Linked DNA regions of Homo sapiens: regions 2, 3, 4 and 5 are each linked to region 1. The links are contacts of gene promoters, found by promoter capture Hi-C in human tissues and cell types (Jung and others, 2019). All regions are on one chromosome and are shown on one strand. Each heading gives the region's core, a stretch centred on a gene start or on the middle of the fragment in contact. The rest is flanking DNA. Distances are from core to core; before and after follow the strand shown.

Region 1 (2,700 bases), core at 93-2,592:
GCTGATAAGGATGGAAGCCAGGAGACCAGGAGGAGCAACAGCTTCTCCAGAGCTCTGCTGGGACTATGGAATGAAACGTGCCTAAGCTCACCCGGCACTGAATGGGTGGATACAGGACTAGAACAAGACCTCCTGGGTCTTACCTCCAGGTTCAGCCCATGGTTTCATAAAACTTAGTGTGCCAAGCACTCAACAGTTTGTGATTCCTTTTAGTGTCAAGCTCTCATCACTTCCTCACAACAGCCCCAGAGGTAAGCACAACTCTGCCCTCCCTGTTTCCAGATAATGAGGTGAGCTCAGAGAGGTTGAGCTACCTGCCCAACGCTTCCCAGGGTGGGAATGGGGATGGTGGGGGCAGGGGCGTGGAGTGAGGCTGGATTGACCCCCAGTTCTCATCAGCACCCTGGGGTGGTACATTGCAGAGCCGCGGGCACAGGGGGCTGGCACCCCAAGCACCAGGTAGCGATGACAATGGCCACCACATCCGGAGGCCCTAACGTGCACCAGGTAGAGGGTGCATACTTCACGGGCACTATCTGTCCCCAAAGCAGGTGAGGATGAGGGGACTCCCTGAGACACCCTTGTACCCCCTGCCCAGTAGTTACTGAAGATACTATAGGGTGCGATATAATCCAGACCAGCCCTCCCAGCCCAGACCACAGAATGGAAAACTCCAGGTCCCCAGCACGCCTGGGGTGGGGGATGGGGTGAGGAGGAGCCTTGGGGGGTTTCCTCTGTCTAGGTGGAATGTGGAATGTGGTGGGAAAGCTCCTCCTGACCCCCTTACACTCCTCCTCCATGTTCGTCCCCTCCCACCACATTTTCTCCTCCCACTGTGCCCCCTCCTCCCCATACCTCCTTGGCTGTTTCCCCATCGTCCCGCCGTCTTCCCACATTCCCTCCTCTTCCCTTCCCCAAAAGTCCTCTCCCATCTTCCCCATCCCTCTTCCCTCCCCGCATATAATCTCTTCCTTCCTGTAAATCCTCTCCCTCTCCCCTCCCTTCCATCACCCCCCAGTCCACCACATCCCCCTCAGTCCCCCATCTATCTCCTTTCCCCTTGATCACTCCCCAGCCCACCACATCCCTTCCGCCCCCTCCCCCTCCCCCTCCTTCTCCCCTCCCCTCCCTCCCACATTTTCCATCAGGCCTGAGCTGGGGGGAGCAGGGTTTCTAACAGAGCGCCCCGGTCCGACCCCTGCGGACCTCGGAGGGCCCCATCCCCCACCCCCCCCACCCCGCCCCAAAGCGGGCTGGGGTGGGCGGAGTGGGAGGGGCGCGCCGGGTGGGGGCGGGGAACTTTACCTGGGAGTGGGCCAGGCCGCCAGCCCCGCCAGCCCCGCCAGCCCCGCCAGCCCCGCGATGGCTTGGGCCGCGCTCCTCGGCCTCCTGGCCGCACTGTTGCTGCTGCTGCTACTGAGCCGCCGCCGCACGCGGTGAGTGTCCTGCTCCGCTCGGCCCCGCCAGACAAAGGGGGCGGCTCCCGCCCGGGCTGCAGCCCAAGGGTCTCGGAGCCCGCGGCCGGCCCGGCCCGAGTCCCGCTCCAGTATCCCGGGCAAGGCGAGACCCTCGGAGGTGGGAGTCCCGGGGCCCCGCACGTGGGTGAGGGGGCCAGGCCGTGCTCCCCCTGCCAAGAAGGTGCAAGGTGGGAAGGTGCGGGGTCCGGTAGGTCCCCCGGGGCGAATCGCCCACCGCGACAAGTCCGAGTCTGGCCCTTAGCGCGACGGCAGGGACCTAGGAGGGGGTTTCAGGTGAGGACCGAGGGTTTGTGGGTGGGGAGCCGTGCGGGGACAGCCTCTGCGTGGCCCGGGTGGAAGAAGCGCTCTCCACTCTCCAGCCTCTGCCTGCACCTGGCACCCACCTACGCGCTGTCAAACCCTGCCTTGCTTTCGGCAGTCCTATAGGGATAGCCTCGCTCCTCAACCCATTACACAGATGGGAGTGTTGAGCCAGCGGAGTGTAGAGCCCCTGGGGGATGTCTTGATCATGCCCTGGAACCACCCACCCCGGGATTCCCCGTCTGGAAGACGGGGGTCGGTGGGCTTAGTAATTTCATTTGCCAGGGAGAAACTGAGGCCTATGAAGTCTCTACCTTCCCCTGAGGTCCCACAGCCTGGACAGAACGGAGCCAGGGTCAGATGTCACAGCCTCCTGGTCCCAAAGGTTTTCCAGCTCCATTGAGCATCTGTGATTTAGGAGAAAAAGTAAAGACAGCCTCAAATCAAGGAGATAGCTGTAGCTCTCCTTTTCATAAAATATTTTTTAAGTTAACTTGAATTGCATAAGGAATAGCTGAATACATTCGACTTAACACAAATATTTATCCTGTTATAGGTAAGACCGAAGCCCCTTAACCCTCCCCCAGCCCCTGAAGTCTAGTCCTCTCTCCCTCTCTGGGCCTCTCCTGTTGCTGAGTCTGGGTAGAACCTTCCATATTTAAAAAAATATACTTTTTATTTGAGACTAGTTTGGGATTTACAGAAAGTTGCAAAGATAGTACAAAAAGTTCCTGTATTTCTCTCACCCCGTTTTCCCTATTGTTAACATCTTACATTGTTATGGGACATTTGTCGCCACTAAAAACCAACACTGGTCCGTTACTCTTAACTAAACTTCAAACTTCACGGGATTTTATCCAGTTTCCCATTACTGTCCTCTTTTGTTCCAGGATCCGGCCCCAAGTTACCACATTGCCTTTAG
Region 2 (2,700 bases), core at 149-2,648, 270 kb before region 1:
TGAGACTCCAACTCAAAATATTATATAAAATAAAATGAAAATAAAAATAATAAAAAAAATTGAATAGATATTTTGGAAAAGAAGATATACAAATGGCTGAGAAACACATGAAAAGATGTTCAACATCATAAATCATTAGGGAAATGCAAATAAAAACTACAATGAGATACCACTCCATACCTACTAGGATGGTTATGTAAACCAGAGTATCTGAGACAAGTCTCAGTCAAGTTAGGAAGTTTATTTTGCCAACATTAAGGATGACCACCCTTGACACAGCCTCAGGAGGTCCTGACGACATGTGCCCAAGGTGGTCGGGGCACAGCTTCGTTTTATACATTTTAGGGAGACATGAGACATCTATCAACAATGTAAGATGTACATTGGTTTGGTCTGGAAAGGTGGGACAACTAGAAGCAGGGAGGGGGCTTCCAGGTCACAGATAAATAAGAGACAAACAGTTTCATTCTTTTGAGTTTCTGATTAGCCTTTCCAAAGGAAGCAATCAGATATGCATTTATCTCAACAAAGAGAGGGGTGACTTTGAGTTCTGTCCTTTGTCCACAAGGAATTTTCTTGTGTACAAATTGAGAGGGAGGTATGTTAACTTTTTTATCTTAGTAGCTATCTTTTTAGAAATAGAATGGGAGGCAGGTTTGTCCTAAGCAGCTCCCAGATTGACCTTTCCCTTTAGCTTAGTGATTTTAGGGTCCCAAGATTTGTCTTCCTTTCACAGTTATAATTTTAAAGATGAGAAATAAGTGTTGGCAAGGATATAGAGAAATTGGAACACGCACTCATTGCTGATGGGAATGTAAAATGGGGCAACCACCATGGAAAACAGTTTGGCAATTCCTCAAAAGTTACCTTATGACCCAGCAATTCTACTCAAAGAAACTGAAAACATGTTCATGTAAAAACCTGTACACAGATATTCCTAACAGCAGTATTTCAAACAGTCACAGGGTGGAAAGAGGCCAGGTGTGGTGGCTCACACCTGTAATCCCAGCACTTTGGGAGGCGCAGGTGGGTGGACTGCTTGAGGTCAGTTCAAGACCAGCCTGAACAACATGGTGAAACCCCGTCTCTACTAAAAATACAAAAATTATCTGCGCATGGTGGTATGCACCTGCAGTCCCAGCTACTTGGGAGAGGCAGGAGAATCGCTGGAACCTGGGAGGCGGCGGTTGCAGTAGGCCGAGATTGCGCCACTGCACTCCGGCCTGGGTGACAAAGTTAGACTCCATTTCAAAAAAAAAGTGGGAAGAACCCAAATGTCTATCAACTAATGAGTGAGTAAACAAAATGTGGTATATCCATACAATGTAATATTATTCAGCAATGAAAAGGAATGAAGTACTGGTACCTGCCAGAACATGGAAGAATCTTGAAAATACACCAAGTGAAAGAAGCCAGACACAAAAGACCATATATTTTACCATTCCATTTATATGAAATGTCCACAATAGACAAATCTACAGGGACAGTAATGGTTGCCCAGGGACAGGGAGGAGAGCTAAAGGGCATGTGGTTTCTTTTTGAGGTGATAAAAATGTCCTAAAATTGACTGTGGTGATGGCTGCACGACTCTGAACATACTAAAAATTGTTGTACATTTAAAATGGGTGAATTGGCTGGGCATGGTGGCTCATGCCTGTAATCCCAGCACTTTGGGAGGCTGAGGTCAGGAGTTCAAGACCAGCCTGGTCAACATAGTGAAACCCCGTCTCTACTAAAAATACAAAAAAAGCAGTTGGGCGTGATGGCGGGCACCTGTAATTACAGCTACTGGGGAGGCTGAGGCAGGAAAATCGCTTGAACCCAGGAGGCGGAGGTTGCAGTAAGCTGAGATTGTAGCACTGCACTCCAGCCTGGGTGATAGAGCAAGACTCCATCTCAAAAAAAAAAAAAAAAAAAAAAAAGTGAATTGTGTGGCATACAAAGTACATCTCAATAAAGCTGTTGCCAAATAAAAAGTACCACCGATTGTATGATTCTATTTCTTTATACGAAATGTCCAGGACAGGCAAATTCACAGACAGAAAGTAGATTGGTGGTTTCCAGGGGATGGGAGAAGGGAGAAATGTGGAAATGGGGAGTGACTGCTAATGGGTATGAGTTTCTTTTTGGGGTAATGAAAATGTTCTGGAATTAGGTAGAGGTGATGGTAGTACAACTCTGTGAATATACTAAAAAACTCTGAATTGTGCACTTTAAGATGGTGAAATTTATGATATGTGAATTATATTGTACCTTTTTTTTAAAATCACAACCTTTTGAACCATTGCCCCACTGATGGTTGCCTCCAGCTGTTTGCTATTAACAGTGGTGCTGCATTGAACATGCTTGTACATGCCACTCTGTGTTAAGAGTATCTCCCTGTGGAAGACATTCACAAAAAAAAAAACAAACCCAGACTATCTCCCTAGGGCAGATCCAGAGACTACAAATGGCAGGTTTACAAAGCATAAGCATTTTTAACTCTGAAAATATTGCCAAATTATCCTCCAAAGTGGTTGTACCGACTTACACTTCCACAAGAAAGCGTCCCACATCCTCAGTCGCGCTGGATAATCATCAGATGTTAACATTTCTGCCAACATAGTGGGCAAGAAATTGTACTTTAATGTTTCAATTTGTATTTGATTCAATTTGCATTCAGCAATCATCCTGATTACTAGGGAAGTTAAACCTCTTTCC
Region 3 (2,700 bases), core at 197-2,696, 330 kb after region 1:
GACCTCCCCAGGCTCAGGTGATCCTCCTACCTCAGCCTCTCAAGTAGTTGGACTATAGGCATGCACCACCATGTCTGGCTAATTTTTTGATTTTTAGTAGAGATGGGGTTTTGCCATGCTGCCCAGGCTGGATGACAAATGATTGTAAACAACCTCAATGTCCCTCAACAATCTACTCATATGATGGAAGAACATGAAGCCATTAAAAAAAACAAAAAGGGGGCCGAGTGCAGTGGCTCACACCTGTAATCCCAGCACTTTGGGAGGCCAAGGCAGGCGGATCACGAGGTCAGGAGATCGAGACCATCCTGGCTAACACGGTGAAATCCCATCTCTACTAAAAATACAAAAAATTACCCAGGTGCGGTGGCAGGCACCTGTAGTCCCAGCTACTCAGGAGGCTGAGGCAGGAGAATGGGGTGAACCCAGGAGGCAGAGCTTGCAGTGAGCCGAGATTGCGCCACTGCACTCCAGCCTCAGTGACAGAGCAAGACTCCGTCTGAAAACAAAAAACAAAAAGGGCAGCATATGTGGGCCTATATAAAACATATCTCTAAGCTTCAAAATTAAGTGAAAAGGCGAGGCATAGAACAATGTGAACTTATAAGTGTTTTGGGTCTTTTTTAAAGGGAGATGGAGAGGAAATCTGTATTAAATATCTCCTAACTTTTTTAAAATTATTTTTATTGTGGTTATATATACACATATAAAACAAAGGCTGCCATTTTACCCAATCTTAAGTATACAATTCAGTGGCATTACTTACATTCACAACATTGTACAACCATCACCACTATCTGTTTCCAAAACTCCTATCAGGAGGCTACTCACTGACATCATTGAAAACAGAAGCTCTGCAACCACTAATAATTTCCTATAACCCCCCTTCCCCTAGCCCTAAGTAATCTATAATCTATTTCTGTCTCTGTGAATTTGCCTAGCTAGATATCTCAGGTAAGTGAAATCAGACAGTATTTGTCCCTTTGTGTCTGGATTATTTCATTCAGCTTAAGATTTTCAAGGTTCATCCTTATGGCATGTATCAGAACTTCATGGCTGAATAATATTCCATTGTGTGTATATAAACACACACCCCAAATTTTGTTTATCCATTCACTTGTTGATGAACATAGTTTGTTTCCACCTTTTTGCTATTATGAACAGTAATTCAAAGAGCACTGGCATCTAAGTATCTGTTTGAGTCCCTGTTTACATCCTTTACAACAGTGGTCCCCAACCCCAGGCTGCATACCGGTTCCAGTCCATGGCGTATTAGGAACCAGGCTGCACAGCAGGACGTGAGCATTGGGCAACCAAGCATTGCCACCTGTGCTTGGCCTCCTGTCAGATCAGCAGCAGCATTAGATTCTCATAAGAGCACTAACCCTATTGTGAAGTGCGCATGCGAGGGATCTAGGGTGTGCACTCCTTATGAGAATCTAATGCAACCCCCACACCCCAAATGTGGAAACATTGTCTTCCACGATACTGGTCCTTGGTGCCGAAAGGTTGGGGACCGCTGCTTTACAGTATAGAACTAGGAAATGGAACTGCTGAGTCCTGTGGGGTAATTCTGTATTTAGATTTCTGCGGAACCTCCCTGACTTACTTTTCTCCTTCTTCCTCTCTTCTTTGGTCTGGAACCAGCTCCTCTCGGGCTCTTGGACCACTGCCTCCTTCCCCTTCTCCAGGAGCCGCTTTGCTGTATTGATCTGTAGAGATAACAAAAGGATGCCTGCCGTGAAACCCGTATCTACTAACACAGGAAGCCACGGGCTGCAAATGCCTGGGGCTCTGATGGGAGAAACATTTCAGAAGGGCAGCACCAGCAGGGATGCAGCAGCTTGCTTACTGAGCAGCCTTGTGAACAAGATCCCGCCTCGCAGCCTCACCTGGGCTTCTGACTGCTGCATCTCTTTTTCCTCCGCCTCTAGCTGCAGAACTGCATACACATCTTTCTCCATTTTCTCAATCTTGTCCCGGAATTTGAGGATGACATCTCAATGGGAGAAAATAAAAAGGATTTACAAATAAGGGTAGGCCAGGCATGGTGGCTCACACCTGTAACCCGGCACTCTGGGAGATTGAGGTGGGAGGATTGCTTGAGCCCAGGAATTTGAGGCCAGCCTGGGCAACGTGGCCAGACTCTGTCTCTACAAAAAAAAAAAAAAAAAAAAAAAAAGCCAGGCACAGTGGCTCATGCCTGTAATCCCACGCTTTGGGAGGCCAAGGCAGGTGGATCACCTGAGGTCAGGAGTTTGAGACCAGCTTGGCCAATGCTGTGAAACCCCGTCTCTATTAAAAATACAAAAATCAGCTGGGTGTGGGGGCACACGCCTGTAATCCCAGCTACTACTCAGAAGGCTGAGGCAGGAGAACTGCTTGAACCCACGAGGCGGAGGCTGCAGTAAGCCAAGATGACACCACTACACTCCAGCCTGGGCAAAAGAGCGAGACTCCATCTAAAAAAAAAAAAAAAATTAGCCATCATGGTGGCACACACCTGTAGTCCCACCTACTCAGGAGGCTGAGGAGAAGAACTGCTTGAACCCAGGAGTTCGAGGCAACAGTAAGCTATGATCGCACCCCTGTACCCCAGCCTGGGCAACAAAGCAAGACCTTATCTTAAACAAAATAAGGCAGTGGCTCAAGCCTGTAATCCCAGCACTTTGGGAGGCCAAGGCGGGTGGATCACGAGGT
Region 4 (2,700 bases), core at 45-2,544, 270 kb after region 1:
CTTTGAAGCCAGTTTGGAAACTAGCCATCAGGAAACTCCACAAACCTCAATTTATCCCAGACAATTTTGGAGGAAAAACCCAAGTCAGCAAAGAATATGGAAATTACTGAGAAGGTACGAGGTCCACGGAGGCTGCATCTTAAAGAATGATTGCCATCGGCCGGGCGCAGTGGTTCACACCTGTAATCACAGCACTTTGGGAGGCCGAGGCGGGCAGATCATGAGGTTAGGAGATCAAGACCATCCTGGCCAACATGGTGAAACTCTGTCTCTACTAAAAATACAAAAATTAGCTGGGTGTGGTGGTGCATGCCTGTAATCCCAGCTACTCGGGAGGCTGAGGCAGGAGAATCACTTGAACTAGGGAGGTGGAGGTTGCAGTGAGCTGAGATCACGCCACAGCACTCCAGCCTGGCGACAGAGCGACACTCCATTTCAAGGAAAAAAAAAAAGAAATTCAAATTTAACTGAGCATCCTATGTTTCAGGGGGCATCCCAGCTCAGGAATGACAAGAACAGTGCTGAAAGGGACACAGCTCAAGCTACAGAGGTCTCCAACTGGTGGCCTCCAGGCCATATGAGGCCCATGCATTGTGTGTTGCTCAGTCTTCACAGTTTATAAAATTGGAACAGGCTACAAACATTTCAAAGAACTTTAAAGGATTTCTTGCCTCTTTAAAAATGGGAAGCTCCAACCATGCAGGTAGAAGCTGCCCCACTATGGGAACATAATGGGGACAGAAGGGAATGTGGAAAAGTGAAAACTGATCACTGACTTGTTAGGATGGAGAAATTGTGAATAAATCTGTTTAGGGGTTGTTTATTGCATAAGGAGTCTGGAAGTGACAATGTCAGTAGCCCATGCCTGGAGAACCGGCCCTCTGCAGGCTCCACTGCTGCGGTCCCAGAAGTGCTGGCTGCAGTGTCTGAAAAACTTGCCCATCTGCACCATCTCTGCCAGACGGACTTGTACTTCCCTCTTTCCAGGCACAAGATGAAGGCCTCTTGCCATGGGCTGGAGAAATCAGTCGCTACAACACCCCTTGCAGACACAGGCTGGAGCTGCAAGTCCTGGGAGAGACCTGCTCTATCTTCTCTGGCAATTGTGGCCACTACTAGAGGAGCTCAGGCAGGCAAAATCTAGGAAAAGAAAAAGAAGATTGAGCCAATGGCTAATACATAACAGAGCCGGGATTTAAACCCAAGTCTAGCTCCAGAGCCTATGTTTGTTTTTAACATTTTTAAAAAGCACTTTCGGAGGGTGAGGCAGGAGGATCACTTGAGACCAGGAGTTTGAGATCAACTCCAGCAACATAGTGAGACCCCTATCTCTAAAAAAATTTAAAAATTAGCTGAGTGTGGTAGCACGCACCTGTAGTCACAGCTACTCAGGAGGCTGAGGTGGGAGGATTGCTTGAACCCGGAAGGTGGAGGCTGCAGTGAGCTAAGATCGCACCATTGCACTCCAGCCTGGGTGACAGAGCAAGACCCTGTCTCAAAAATAAATAATAAAAAAATTGTCATACAATAAAACTATTTTTTTATTTTGCTGTACAGTTCTATAAATCTGGGTTTTTGTTTTGTTTCGAGACGGAGTCTCACTCTATTGCCCAGGCTGGAGTGCAATGGTGCGATCTCAGCTCACTGCAGCCTCCACCTTCCAGGTTCAAGTGATTCTCCTGCCTCAGCCTCCCAAGTAGCTGGGATTACAGGCACGCGCCACCACGCCTAGCTAATTTTTGTATTTTTAGTAGAGATGGAGAGATGGGGTTTCACGATGTTGGCCGGGGTGGTCTCAAATTCCTAACCTCAGGTGATCCACCCACCTGGGCCTCCCAAAGTGCTGGGATTACAGGCGTGAGCCACCATGCCTGGCCCAGTACATTCATATAACCACTACGGCAATCATGACACCCCAAACACTTCCTTGTGCGATCCCTTTACATCCACATCCGCCACCCATCCTAACTTCTGGCAACACCATCATCTCTTCCCTTCATCATACCTTTGTCTTTTCCAGAATGTCAAATAAATGGAATCACACAGCATGTAACCATTTGAGGCTGGCTTCCCTCAGTCAGCATCGCATCTCTGGGGTTCATCCAAGTTGTTGCACAATCACTAGTTTATTCCTTTTCACTCGGATGAAGATGACTATTACTTATCGGGGGACCTGCCCTGATAATCACGTAGGTTCTTTTCTATTTTCCTAAGCATCAGCTGGCTTGAGAAATAAAGGGACAGAGTACAAAAGAGAGAAATTTTAAAGCTGGGCGTCCGGGGGTGATATCACACGTTGGTAGGATCCGTGATGCCCCACAAGCCACAAAAACCAGCCAAGTTTTTGTTAGGGATTTTCAAAAGGGGAGGGAGTGTGTGAATAGGCGTGGGTGACAGACATCAAGTACTTAACAGGGTAATAGAATATCACAAGGCAAGTGGAGGCAGGGCGAGATCACAGGACCACAGGACCGAGGCGAAATTAAAATTGCTAATGAAGTTTCGGGCACCATTGTCATTGATAACATCTTATCAGGAGACAGGGTTTTGAGATCAACCAAAATTTATTAGGCAGGAATTTCCTCTTCCTAATAAGCCTGGGAGCGCTATGGGAGACCGGAGTTTATTTCACCTCTGCAATCTCGACCATAAGAGACAGGTACGCCCCGGTGGGGCCAGTTCAGATACCTATCCCTAGGT
Region 5 (2,700 bases), core at 44-2,543, 340 kb before region 1:
GATGTAGGTAAAGTGGGAAGCCCAATGCTTAGCACATAGTAGAACCTCAGTAATTGTTAGTCTCTTTCTTTCCTTTCCTTATTGACTGATTGAGACAAGGTCTTGCTCTGTCACCCAGGCCGGAGTGCAGTGGTGCCATCATAGCTCACTGCAGCCTCAAACTCCTGGGCTCAGTGGATCCCCCCACCTCAGACTCCCAAGTAGCTAAGACTACAGGTGGGTGTCACCACACCCACCTAATTTTTTTTTTTTTTTTTTTTGTAGAGACGGAGTCTAACTATGTTGTCCAGGCTTGTCTTGCCCTTAATTATCTTTTAGCTTTTACTTTCTTCCGCCTTTTCCCTCACCTACCCAGGTTGGTTTGAGATTTGTTTTAGATAGGCTTCCTGTCCTTATTGTGAGTATTTTGAACATCAGCTGGGCTGTTTGGATCCCTTTCCTTTATTTATTGTTTTTCAGCAACAAACAAGGGTGTGGACTGTGGTGCGATTATAGAGCAGCAGACGCTGAGCCGAGCTTGAGACTGGCTGACTTTGTAAAAAATCAGTCTCTTTGAGTTCAAGGCTGACTTCCTTGGAGAAAAATTACAGCAGTATTCGGAAGCTTAATGTCTCTGTGTTTGAATGGTTCTCAGACTACCAAAAAACAGACCCTGGGGCCAGAGGCGTGATGGCAGCTTCTCTTAGATAAGTCAAGAATGGTAAATGCATGTGTGACTATCCTCTCCAGTGGTGCAATACATTTATTTATGTAGAGATGGAGTTTTTGCTCTGTTGCCCAGGCTGGAGTGCAATGGCACGATCTCAGCTCACTGCAACCTCTCCCTCCTGGGTTCACGCCATTCTCCTGCCTCAGCCTCCTGAGTAGCTGGGATTACAGGTGTTCGTCCAGCTAATTTTTGTATTTTTAGTAGAGGCGGGGTTTCGCTATGTTGGCCAGGCTAGTCTCAAACTCCCAATCTCAGGCGATCCACCCACCTTGGCCTCCCAGAGTTGTAGGATTACAGGCGTGAGCCACCGCGCCTGGCCTGCATTTTTATTTTTTAAGAGAATATACATTTTAAATTGTTTATTTTTTTATGGACAGAACAGTATGAAGTTAGAGCACATACCTACTTTGATACTAGGTGGTATGCTCTTCCAGCTAGAGCTGCAGGCAGGATGTGTCTCCTTTATTGCTGTCCTCTACCTGTCCCACCCATCCCCATTCCCCGACTGGGTCCAGCTCAGGCAGAGGGTGGGGGCTGCAGAAATGCTTGCTGGACATGGGAATCGTGGGGTGGTGAGAGGAATACAGGTTCCAAGTCAGAAGGCCAGGCTTGGATTATCGGGTCCATCATCTGCTAACCTTGAGCTACTTGTCGTACCTCATGCCATCTTTCTGAGCCCGTTTCTTTGCTCTCCAGCTGATCTCCCAGGATTCTTGGGAGGTACCAATGAGAAACTAAAGTGATGGCATCGTGAATGCAGACATCCTTTGCAGCATCCATTTCTCTTTTTCTCTTTTCTTTTTCTTTTTCTTTTTTTTTTTTTAGAGACGGAGTCTCGCTCTGTTGCCCAGGCTGGAGTGCAATGGGGCGATCTCGGCTCACTGCAGCCTCCGCCTCCTGGGTTCTAGCAATTCTCCTGCCTCAGCCTCCCGAGTAGCTGTGATTACAGGCGCATGCTGCCACACCCGTCTAATTTTTTTTTAAATTTTGGTAGAGACGGGGTTTCACCGTGTTGCCCAGGCTGGTCTCGAACTCCTGAGCTCAGGCAATCCACCTGCCTCGGCCTCCCAAAGTGCTAAGATTACAGGCGTGAGCCACCGTGCCTGGCTGCAGCATCCATTTCACCTACTTTATCAAGCACAGGCAGGCTCTGTGTTAGGCATCGTGGTGAACAACACAGACATGGTCCTTGCCTTTATGGAGCTTACCACGAGCTTACCAGCTTACCAGGGAGGGTGAGGGGTGGACAAAGAGAGGAAGCTAATGAATGAATGAAGTTGATAGTTTCAGATTGTGGTTATCGTAGGAGAATGTGACAGTGTGGAACTGGGAAGGTGAGATAGGGTGGTACCTCTAGAGGCTGATGTTTGAGCTGAGGCCTGAATGATGAGAATCTTCCTGAAGCAGAATTTTATCCCAAGTGGATTTTGTTTTCTTTTGTAAAGACAGGGTATTGCTATGTTGCCCAGGCTGGTCTCGAACTCCTGGCCTTGAGCAATCCTCCTGCCTTGGCCTTCCAAAGTTTAGGGATTACAGGCGTGAGCCCCCGCACCTGGCCCCTAAATGGATGTGTTTGCCTCCTGTACTCCTCAGCCTTATTTGTCACTGTAGCACTGGGCTCCCTCAGCAGTGCAGTGTGTTGGAGACAGTGGCCTCTCTGTGTCCCTAGTTTTGCTACACATCCCACCTCTCACCGCACCATTAGTACTCCCAGGAGTCTCCTCCTGGGGACAAAATCTGTGGAGGAGCCAGACTACTGGCTCTTTGAGATGAGGATGATTTTGTTGACCTCCTGATAGTTGCTGGGCTCGTAGGACCTTCCTAGCTGAACACAGGTCTGCTAAAGGAGTCCCCCACATGCCAGGCCCAGTCCTGCTGCAGCTTCTCTCAGCCCCTTGCTGTCTCCCACACTCAGCAGACATGAAGCACACAGGTCACCTTACTGAGCAAGATGGTCACAGGCCTGCACCCACGGAGCTTCTGGGCAGGAG

The links. Contacts are between HindIII fragments. The study calls those that stand out against the background at their distance.
Region 2: a fragment that was not itself captured here is called in contact with the fragment with the promoter of PTGIS in region 1 in 7 of the 25 tissues and cell types used here (H1 embryonic stem cells, IMR-90 fibroblasts, dorsolateral prefrontal cortex and 4 more).
Region 3: a fragment that was not itself captured here is called in contact with the fragment with the promoter of PTGIS in region 1 in 1 of the 25 tissues and cell types used here (dorsolateral prefrontal cortex).
Region 4: a contact is called between a fragment that was not itself captured here and the fragment with the promoter of PTGIS in region 1, in 1 of the 25 tissues and cell types used here (dorsolateral prefrontal cortex).
Region 5: a fragment that was not itself captured here is called in contact with the fragment with the promoter of PTGIS in region 1 in 1 of the 25 tissues and cell types used here (lymphoblastoid cells).

The regions. Positions count from the first base shown.
Region 1 is chr20:49,566,779-49,569,478 of GRCh38, reverse strand. PTGIS (prostaglandin I2 synthase) reads left to right here and starts at 1,342. Exons shown (of 10, transcript NM_000961.4): 1 at 1,342-1,436. The coding sequence starts at 1,363. LOC101927486 (a long non-coding RNA gene) reads right to left here and starts at 1,435. Exons shown (of 2, transcript XR_244188.4): 1 at 1,306-1,435. RefSeq lists enhancers at 1-425, 426-1,042. The HindIII fragment of the contact is 24,721 bases long and covers 1-2,700 here.
Region 2 is chr20:49,834,902-49,837,601 of GRCh38, reverse strand. All of the region lies in intron 3 of SLC9A8 (solute carrier family 9 member A8), which reads right to left. Among named protein-coding and RNA genes, the nearest start is that of SLC9A8, 23 kb to the right of the region's middle. RefSeq lists enhancers at 530-1,030, 1,031-1,531. The HindIII fragment of the contact is 7,659 bases long and covers 1-2,700 here.
Region 3 is chr20:49,238,248-49,240,947 of GRCh38, reverse strand. DDX27 (DEAD-box helicase 27) reads right to left here. Exons shown (of 21, transcript NM_017895.8): 15 at 1,893-1,999; 16 at 1,610-1,712. Among named protein-coding and RNA genes, the nearest start is that of DDX27, 20 kb to the right of the region's middle. The HindIII fragment of the contact is 3,226 bases long and covers 1-2,700 here.
Region 4 is chr20:49,293,843-49,296,542 of GRCh38, reverse strand. No RefSeq gene overlaps it. Among named protein-coding and RNA genes, the nearest start is that of SNORD12, 15 kb to the right of the region's middle. RefSeq lists enhancers at 517-1,449, 1,450-2,383, 2,384-2,700. The HindIII fragment of the contact is 7,192 bases long and covers 1-2,700 here.
Region 5 is chr20:49,910,500-49,913,199 of GRCh38, reverse strand. The region is part of intron 1 of SPATA2 (spermatogenesis associated 2); the gene reads left to right. Among named protein-coding and RNA genes, the nearest start is that of SPATA2, 3.7 kb to the left of the region's middle. The HindIII fragment of the contact is 3,455 bases long and covers 1-2,700 here.